Linked DNA regions of Homo sapiens: region 1 is linked to region 2. The links are contacts of gene promoters, found by promoter capture Hi-C in human tissues and cell types (Jung and others, 2019). All regions are on one chromosome and are shown on one strand. The core of a region is centred on a gene start or on the middle of the fragment in contact, and the rest is flanking DNA. Distances in the headings are between cores, read along the strand shown. Region 1 has its middle 52 kb from the start of MYO16. Region 2 holds the start of LIG4 (DNA ligase 4).

What was found. The method cuts DNA at HindIII sites, captures the fragments that hold promoters and counts their contacts. A contact is called where the count stands out against the background at its distance.
Region 1: a fragment that was not itself captured here is called in contact with the fragment with the promoter of LIG4 in region 2 in 1 of the 25 tissues and cell types used here (stomach).

The regions. Positions count from the first base shown.
Region 1 is chr13:108,574,734-108,580,335 of GRCh38, reverse strand. It overlaps a transcript of MYO16 not described here. Among named protein-coding and RNA genes, the nearest start is that of MYO16, 52 kb to the left of the region's middle. The HindIII fragment of the contact is 5,236 bases long and covers 1-3,993 here.
Region 2 is chr13:108,211,953-108,216,816 of GRCh38, reverse strand. LIG4 (DNA ligase 4) reads left to right here and starts at 1,281. Exons shown (of 3, transcript NM_206937.2): 1 at 1,281-1,333; 2 at 2,207-2,279. RefSeq lists a silencer at 1,079-1,218 and an enhancer at 1,062-1,356. The HindIII fragment of the contact is 8,794 bases long and covers 1-4,429 here.

The sequences.
Region 1 (5,602 bases), core at 126-2,625, 360 kb before region 2:
ACATGTATCTTTTGGTTCTAGGTTAACCTGAAGAATTTTAAGCATAGAAATCTCAAGGTCTGCATTATGGGTATGATTTAGTAAAGAGAGACACTGGACCTCTAATCTGTAGATGCTGTATAGGAAAATGTTTATCCAGGGATGCAGTATAGCAAAATGTTCCTGTTTAAGTGTTTCAGTATGTGCAAACCATGACATTAATTAGAACTCTTTTATTGACTTTATTTTTTAAATTTATTTTTATCATCTATATTTTTAAGTATCAAACATTGATTTATTACGTATTTGAATTATATTATTTGCCACTCAGGAAAATGCAGTCAATTAGTCAATGTCATTGGAATCCCTGGATCTATAAATTATCATGAATTTCAAAACACCTGATCACAAATCACCTAAACTCCAAATGGTTTCTTACTTAACAAATAGCAGTCATTGTAATAGCAGTTTGAAATATTATTTAGGAAGTGGCCAGCTATATGCATTAATTAAAATGCCCAAACAATAGGCATGGCTCTTTATTTTTCTACAGAATTATCTTAATTTGGAGATATCAAAAACAAAACAAAACAAAAAACAAAAAAAGAAAGCTTGCCTTGGCCATCCATGGTGGCTCACACCTGTATCGCAGCACTTTGGGAGGCCGAGGCAGGTGGATCACGAGGTCAGGAGTTTGAGACCAGCCTGGCCAACATGGTGAAACACCGTTTCTACTGAAAATACAAAAATTAGCCGGATGTGATGGAGGGCGCCTGTAATCCCAGCTACTTAGGAGGCTGAGGCAGGAGAATTGCTTGAACCCGGAAGGCAGAGGTTGCAGTGAGCAGAGATCGCGCCACTGCACTCTAATCTGGGTGACAGAGTGAGACTCCATCTCAAAAAAAAAAAAAAAAATTCTTGCCTTTAGCATTTATAGAAATTCAATGATCAGCATTAATCCTTCAGACCTAAATGCATTCAAACGGATTTCTCTTCCAGGCTCTAACTCAGTCATCTTTGAGATGATCCTTCTAGATACTAAATTTCTAACAGCTTTTCATTTAGTTACTGAGGTTATTGCAAGGCAATGGTGACTCATGGGAAAACTGCAAGAGACTCAGTCAAAAGACACAAGTTACTTCCACATTGGTAAGGACACACAACCGTAACTGCAAATAACTACACAGGGCATGGGCCACCACTCTGTCCAAGTTTCCACAAGAGGCCAAGCAGCCTTTGAAGATGCCATTGGTCTTTCTACCCTAACATCCCCTACAAAGGAAAAAATCATATTATTAACCCCTTTCAAATTTTCCATGGTCCTAAATATAATAAGACTTTAAAGATATAATTTCACAGCCATTATATTTACAGTGTTCTGACGCTCGCATATAACTGTATATGTAAAATAAATATGTATTTATTATATAATAAATATATGTAATAATACATAAATACATAATACATATAATTATAATGTATAATAAATATATATGTGAGCTGAAAATGTATTCCCAATAATTGTTGTGATCCACATGCAGTCCATAGTTATGAACACACCACAAGACCAATTAGAAAGTAAAGGACCTGGGGATGTGAAAATGTCGCAATGCTCTTAGTGATGTGTATCTCGACGAATAGTACCCATATTCTGAAGTTGAACACGAGAAATGTATGGGCACCAGGATGCCAGGTTGTTTTTCCAGCCAGACATCCCAGTGGGGAAGATGAGGCAAGGAGGGAAGAGTGGGACCCCTGGCAAGGACACTGGCAGCTTTCTTCAAAAGGAGAGTCTTTATAAGTACACAGCACCCACCAAACAAAAAGGGATATGGAATCCTGGGCCAGATGCTTGTTTATAACATGCCTTTTCTAAGTGGTCATTTCCAGTCTTAAAGTCCTCAAATGGACATCTGGCACTGCCATTACCTCGATATTTAATTTTGCATAATTGCTCCCATTTGGGTTTAAAATAGGAACTGTGAAATGGATTGCAATGAGATATTTTGTTATATAAACACGTTTCTCATTATCTGGTTTTCACTCTTCAAATGGCAGTTTACATAACATTTTTAGTATTTTAATTATTGAATTAAACATGGGAAAACCCTACACAGATTTCCCAGCTTTACTAGGTCATTTCAGACAAATGCACAAATCCTGGCAACTGACGGCAGCTTTTTATGTGTCGAATAAATATGAAGTCAAATACTTACCTTAAAGCCAAGCTTGATATTGGTAACTGCTTCTCAAGCCAGGTAAAAAACAAAGAAATAGAAGTAATTTAATCCTGAAAACTTCATTTTCCAGATCTTCTTAAAAACTAATTTTTTGATCAAAACATAAAGAGGAGCACACAATATATACTTGCGTAGTAAAGGGATAAAAGATCCCTGATGGGGCTATTTTGTCTCTTATATTAAGCTACTCAAATACAACTCCTCAAGTGGAATGAAAATAGAATTAGATGATCAGGAGGAGATATCGGGGTGGGGTAAAAGGGGCAAGTTTAGGGATTTTTATAAATATATGGATACATAGTTTTCTTGTTAATTAGTCATTTAAAATACCTTGTCAATAAAAGACTTCTCGATCACCTTTCCTAGCATCAAAATGATTACAATGTAAATGGGACTATAAGTATGTCTTGTAGTCAGTGCAAAGTGTCTGACAACTTTAATACCAAGTGATGGAGAGAAAACACTATTTCAGGAATAGATATTAAAAGTGATCATATAACACACAGTGGATTGGAAGCATTCCAGGAAGAATGGGACATGAGTGAGGCCTTGAAGGGTAGAGCAGAATTGATGCTGGCAGGAAGAGTTGGATGTGGTGTTCCAGATGGAGGAGAGAGACAGAAATTAAAGCCATGAAGTCAGGAAGATAATAAACTAGACCACGCTGTGCTGGTGCCCGGTGCTGGAGCACAGAGAGAGCTTCTATTATGTGTATTATATGCACACAACAACATGGTAAGGAGATCTCTCATTATCCTCATCCTATATATGAGACATTGAGGCTCTCTAATAGCCAGATTTGGCTATCTGCCTCGAGAATCCAGCCTTTAGCCATTCCCTCCTCTAAGTCACTACTCTCCTGAAGGCACACTCCAAGGACAGGTTAATTACATCAATGTGGCATTTCTCATTCATTTTTGTATAGCTCTTAAAAGTTAGTGAAATGTCATATTGCATTAAACAAAAAATGACCAAACACCTCATGAAAAGGACAACTCAAGAAAACTGTATGGTGGGGAATTTTAGAAAAATTGAATCAAATGGAAAGGTACTGCAAGCTGGGCACAGTGGCTGTCGCCTGTAATCCCAACACCTTGGGAGGCTGAGGCAGGAGGAGCGCTTGAGGTCAGGAGTGCAAGACCAGCCTAGGCAACATAGCAAGGCCCTGTCTCTATATAAAATTTTAAAATTAGCCAGATGTGGTGGCGTATGCCTGTAGTCCCAGCTACTCAGGAGGCTGAGGTGGAAGGATCACTTGAGTCCAGGAGTTGGGGCTGCAGTGAACCGTGATTGCACCACTGCACTCCAGCCTGGGCAACACAGCGAGATCCTGTCTCAAAAAAAAAGAAAAGAAAGAAAGAAAAGAAAAACACTGCAAAGTTCACTGGGAATTCAACTTAAAGCTGAAATGCCCCTAAAATTATTAAAAATATGTTACAGTCAATTTTGCCAAAAGGACAATAACTTTTATATTCATAATTCAATGGATTATTTGAATAAAATCACTCATAACTAAGAGCAGTTACTTTCAAAATGAAAAAGAATTAGTTAAAGATGTTATTTTTCAGATAGCATAGATTCTTACATTTTGTGTGTCGAATAAATAACAATGCTTTATATAATTACTATTGTTTTCCATCCCACATTTTACTCTTCCATTTCACTCCTTCAGTTCATAGCAGAAGACAATATTACCAGCTGGTTGTTCCTCAGTATGACAGTGGCCAATGCACTAACTCTCAGGCTTCAGTACTTCCCAAAAGAACTTTACAACGTGGAAGTCCCAAGGTCATCCCTCCAGGGATGTACAGAGCCTGTGTTTAAAAGACTGCGGTGGCTAAGTGAGGATTCCTCCTTCTAGGAGCCAGGATTCATTCTAGGTCCAATATGCAGAATTTCCACATCTGACCTGTCTCTAGTGCTACATCTGCCACCTGTTTCATTATCTTGCACTCTCATATGTGTAAGTCCTTTCTGTAGTTTTGGAACTTCAGCTTACCAGCTTCTCTGAGCATGACTTACGTGTTCAAATCTGGTCTCCAGATTTGCCTTTTTCTTTAGTCTTAGGGTGCTAGCCCTGAGCGCTTGACAATCAGCTTTTTGGCCTGGCCTTTCTCTATCCCTTCCAGCCCCAGCTAGATTTGGTATTAAACATTATCTCATAGGCCCTCAGTTGCCGAGACTTGAAAGGGTCTACCTAGAAGGATTTAAACTCTATGGCATATCCATTCACCTGCTGGAAATTAGGTTGGAATCTTTCTGCAACACCTGCACTTCCTAAGGTATTATTAGCCTTGCCAGGTACAGGGCTGGGAAAGACAGAATTAACCAGAGCGTAGGCACCACACCATGGCCAGAAACACGGAACAGAGAGAAGAAATGTATACGCGGGCGGGCAGGGGACCATTGCATACATTTGTAACCAAAGTGAAAGCAGAATACCAATAACTGGTAAAACTCACATCAAAAGGACATAGGGCGGTATTGGCAGGGGAGGGAAAATTTCAGTAGAGAGTTTATTAGGGGAAATCCGCTAGTGTGCTATGGGTCTGTGCCTCTCTCCCCCAAGGGAGAAAGGTTCAAAGGGCTTTTGTGGGACTGAGAGCTTGTTGTATTTCACACAGTTAATGGGTGCTGGGGCTCAGGCTTGGCTTTTCCTTCAGCCATCTAGAGTGCAAAAAAGGACTAGCTGTCCCTTTGGCAGCAGAGCAAGGGCCTGAGGTCTGCAACACTGAGACCTATCAGCCTCCCTAGAGGTGTGCAGGCAAAGGATGTATGATGTCGTCCTAGGACCCATACAGGTCAAGAAGGAAACATAGCTGGCGGGTTGGTCATCTTGAATCTCATTCTCTGTGCAATCTGGAGAGATGTACAAGCTCTAAGCAGATGAAAAGCTAGGACTGGAATCACCAGATTCTTGGGGCTGCAGAAGTGAACCCAGGAATAGAGACTGTTCAATATGTCTAAGGATTCAAAGGTCATCATAGGATAGAGGGCATCTGATAAACCCATGAACACTTGAGGTGTGACAGGGTTAGCTCTACACACTGGAATGTGTGAGTACACCTTATACTAGAACTAGTCACACTGGAGTGTGTGAGTACACCTTATACTAGAACTAGTCACACTGGAGTATGTGAGTACACCTTATACTAGAATTAGTCACACTGGAGTGTGTCAGTACACCTTATACTAGAACTAGTCACACTGGAGTGTGTCAGTACACCTTATAATAGAACTAGTCAAGTGAGAACTTCCCCATCTAGTTTTCCTTTTTTTCCTAACCAAACTTTGACCCTGTTGTGATTAACAACTGTGTTTAACAAACTGAGGGAGAGGAAATGCTTGGTAGGATAAAAAAGAATCTCTTATTCTGTCACTCA
Region 2 (4,864 bases), core at 32-2,531:
CATGGTTCTTCTCATGTAACTAATACAAAGTCCAGCTTCTGACATTGTAGGAGCTCAGTAGAGGTTGAACAAGCTACAAATGTACACGGATAGGTACCCTCTCCTAAGATGGGCAAGTGGAGGCTCCTCTACCTTAACACTATTCATTTTTCCTCCAAAATAAATTGATAACTAAATTGAAGAGCAGATACTCACAAAACAATATCATGAGACTTTACAACATCACAGATGATTTTAGATATTCAGGCATATTAGGTCAATTAGACATACGAAGTAAATAACTGAATGTTCTTGGGCTAGACGGAACCTCCGCTACAAACTAGCACTGAATGAAATGTGTCAGTTTTGAAAAAGGAGGTTTTTATACATTACACAACCTCTAAGGGCACTTAACAGCTCTAATATGTTTTATCAGGGCCCACTGCAGCAAAATTTATTTTATTGTAAAGCAATATTTTATGCTAAAATAAAATAGTTCTAAAAGTTGTTTCCACCCCTCTTTATGAATAACTTCTCACTTCTCCATGGCGAAAGAGGACTGACCACAGCAAAAATTCGGTGGAAACCAACAGCTCCTGGAACACAAAAACTGGGGTTGTTTATAATCTCTCCACCCTGAATATCTAGCACCATTACTATATAATAATAGGTGCTCAATAAAGGTTTGTTAAATAACTTTATTTTTAAACCTTAAACAGATACTAGAAGAGTCCATAGTTGATTTCTGGTCATGCAACGGTTTATTTCTATATTGTAAGTTATGTATTGTTATGTATTATTTCTGTATTAAGAGAACTGAGACCACAGTAGCAAACATCATTTAAAAAAAAAAACAGCTCTATATAGTTTGCAAAAGCCTATTTTTTAAAAGTTTAAATGAAACAACCAACGTTTTGAGTTGGGAGGATGTCCTGTTCTCTCTTGGGAGTTTTCACAACCAGCGAAATCAGTATAGTTACCACTGTTTTACGTACAGAGAACAAGAATTAGAGGCTATCACTAGCCAGAGCACAAAGTGATCTTAGGTCTCCCTCGAGACAAAATCCACTGGCGTGTGGATCAACTGCTTGCAGAGAGCATCTGCTGCCGAGGCCAATAGGAGCCGTGTGTACTCAAGACCCTAACCAGGATCCTGCAGGTCCCGCCTCCGCAGCCCCACGGGGCTGCCGGCCCCCCCACCTCCCATCGCGAGCCTGGCTGCGCCGGCGTGCTTGAGCCCGGTGACTGCAAGGCCCCGGGTCTCCCCTGCGCCTGCGCGGCGAGCAGCTGGCGGAACCGGCATCTTCTGGCGCCAGCTTCCGGCTTAGCGGCTGAGCTTCAGGCTTGACGTCAGGTGGGAAGGGTGTGGGGTGGCAGGTGGGGGCGGTTGGGAGGTTGGGGGGGGTTGGGGTGGGGGGGGTGGGGGGTGGCAGATTGACGGTGTGGGGGGAGTCAAGTGGAAGGTGTGGTCCAGCAGGCGGCGAGAAGTCTGTGGGGCAACAGACCGGGGGAAGGTCTGTGGGGCGTCAGGCGGGGTATCTGTGGGACGTCAGGTTGGGGTCTGTAGGGCGTCACGTTGGGGGTCTGTGGGGCGTCAGAGGGGGGAATCTGTGGGGCGGCAGGTGGGGGGTGTTCGGGGCGGGGTTTGGGGTGTGTGTGGCGGCAGGAGGCGGGGGAGGTCTGTGGGGCGTCAGGTTAGGGTCTGTGAGGTGTCAGGCGGGGTTTACGTGGGGTGGCAGGTGTGGGGTGTGTGGAGAGTCAAGTGGGGGGTGTGGGGCGTCAGATTGGGGGTCTGGGGGATCAGATGGGTGGTGTCTGGGACGTCAGGCGGGGGTCGGGGGGTCGTCAGGCGGGGGATGTGTGGGGAGTCAAGTAGGGGAAGTGGGGCGTCAGATTGGGGGTCTGGGGGATCCGGTCGTGGGGGTGTCTGGGACGTCAGGCGGGGGGCCTGAGGGGCGTCAGGTGGGGGGGTCTGGGAGGCGTCAGGCGGGGGTCGGTCTATGGGGGCAGCAAGCAGGGTGTTTGTGCAGCGGCAGGTGATGGGAGTTGCCGAGTCCACAGCGCTGTAGACTGCGCCGCATTAGAAGCCTGGCCTCCTGATGCTGTGCTCTTCATCTAGACCCAAGCCCCAGGTCGTGGGACGATTTCTCCCGTTTTTGACTCCCTGGAACTGTATTGCCTGCTTTACCTGCGTACATGTTGATTCTTTCTCATGGCAACCCCGCAGGAAACCATCAAGATCTCATTTTACAGCTGGGATTCTCTGGTTCACAGAGGTAACGGAGCTTGCCCGAGGCCAGGTATTCACTGGGAATCCGTGAAGGGTTGGGGGAGAGTAGGGGGAACGGGCAGAGGAATGATGTAGACTCCTTAGGGATTTTCCATTTTCCGAGAGGGTACAGGGGGCATTGGAGCGGGAGAGACTTTAGGCTTGGAGGGAATTACTTTATTTCTCTTCTTACACTTGGTCTTTCATTAACTTTTGGGATCCCAAAGCCCTTCTAGCGTCTTTGTCTGCTCATTTCTTTTTGCTGAGATTGTCCCAAATTGTCACTAAGTGCTGTGGAAGATAGGCAGCTGTAAACCCTTTGTTTCCTAGGGAAACACAGCTTGTCAAGGGTTGCATGAAGGATACTTCAGTTGCATTCGTCACTTACTCCTTTTTTTCCTCTCTCTTTTTTAAGTGCAATAGCATAGCACTTAATCACCTTCCATAGTCACTGAATAAAACCTGCCGGTTTATTTTCATGTGTCACTTCAGGACAATTTAGTCAGAACTGAATGAATGATGAATCGTTATTGTGTACTAATTGCTTGCATTCATTCTCCTGAAAGCTTTGCTTATTGTTAAAGAGTGAAGCTTCTTCCCACCTTTTTATCTCGTTAATATTTTGCAATATTTATATTTTAAATGTTGCTTGGATCAGCAAGCATTATAGTATTAAAATTATCAAGACTTACTACTTTTTAAAGCACATTTTGTAGATTATCTGATTTTTATCTTCATTCTAATTTCTACATAGTTTTTAACCCCATTTTATACTTTAGGAAACTGAAGCTTAGAGAAATTAAGTAATTGCCCAGTATCACACAGCTGTTAAATGTTACCATCCACATTTGAACTCAGATTTATTAGAGTCTAAAACCTGAGCCCTAACCAGGAACCTCCTCATTTGTCTTACTGCAAATGGAATGAATCAGCTAAAATCCTCAGAATCCAAAAAATAAAATTAGCATGTAAAAATGAATGGAAGTCCTAATCTTTGACTTTTTATGCCGTTGTAATGAGCAAAAATACTTACGACTAGTTTATGGCAATTTTGGAATCCTTGTTATAGGCGTAGCCATTTTAGGATACATGTGTATCCACACCATTACCTACATTTTGTCATTATAAAGTAATTTAAGTCCTTGCCTGGGATTTGTTGAGCGAAACTTTAACTTTGAGACCATGTAGAATCTATAGATATATCTGTAGAAACTATATACCAATATTTGAATATTAAAGAAATATTAGTTAACCTACTTTATTTTACATAGTTTATATAGAAATTGTAGATATAGCATTGTGTACCCTGTTTACTCCCTTGAGGGAGCAAATTTTGGGAGATAGGGCAGTGAACATACATAACCAGGTGTTACAGTCAGTTATGCAAACCAGATTCAGAGAGAGGAAACAACAGTATATTCAAAGATAAAAGTTTCAGGAAAGTGGTCTGTCATGCGTTTATCCCTCGATCTAACCCACTCAGTAGAAGCTGGGTTTCCTTTGTCAGAAATTAGACTGAGAAGTGCACCTTTTTTCTCTATAGGCCACCAAATGGCTGTTGTAAACCATTGCCAGGGCAGTCAGAGCTACTGAATATTTTTAACCAAACTGAATCTCACCCACTGTGTGTCTGCGTGCGTGTGTGAGTGTGTGGTATGTAACCAGACCATAGCTTTCCCTAGTGTGCTTATCCAGGAGTCAACTCTAGGTGTTCAGTAATTCATTCAGCAAACCTCCTACATGTCTGCCACTAGAGCACAAATTACAGCACAATTCCTGGCCTCTAGATACTGACAGTATAGTAAATGTAGTATTGTAATTAGCCATTTGATTTATTTTACTGGATACTAGATAATGTAGCCTTGTGCATGTGTGTGTTGCTCATTTGTTTGCGAATTGGAAGATGGGGAGTCACATATTTTCTGCACTGTAATAGATCTCCCCACTCCCAGCAAAACTTCTCCAACTCCACTGCCTGGGATACATGGTGGTGTGCCAGGAGGGGTCTGAAACCACAGGATAAAACATAGTTTCTATTCATGGACCATACATTTTACTTGAAATCTTTTTTTGGAAAAGTTATTTAACATTACATAGTTTAAACCATATTAAAATTACTCTAATATATTTATCTTCCAGTAGAACTTGTATGAATATTTAAAACTAAAGAAATTTACACTTGTGAAATTTTAGGAAATATTCTTGCCCTAGCTTAGCAAGGTACCCATTATTTCTTCTCTGACTTTAGCAGATACTTTAGGGAAAAGCTCTCCCCTCAGGACATTTTACGTTTGTTTTATTTTGTTAAAGCACTTGGCATTTTATTATACTCAGTTTCCACTACACTCCCCCCCTTTTTTTCTTTTCTTTTTTTTCTTTTTTTTTTTTTACAGAATATATTTTCTTTTAAAGCAGAAACATGCAGTATTTTCCCCTAGCACAGTGTATGTAGCACATCTCATATGTAGTCATTAAATACTCAGGGAATAACTGGCATGGAAATATGAAAAAAGCAGCATACTAATAAATTTATACTTATAAGACAGTAAGTAACTATGGTAAAATAGATAAAGTGAGGATTTTATGGGTAGGGCATTTTGAGTTGGAATCGAATGC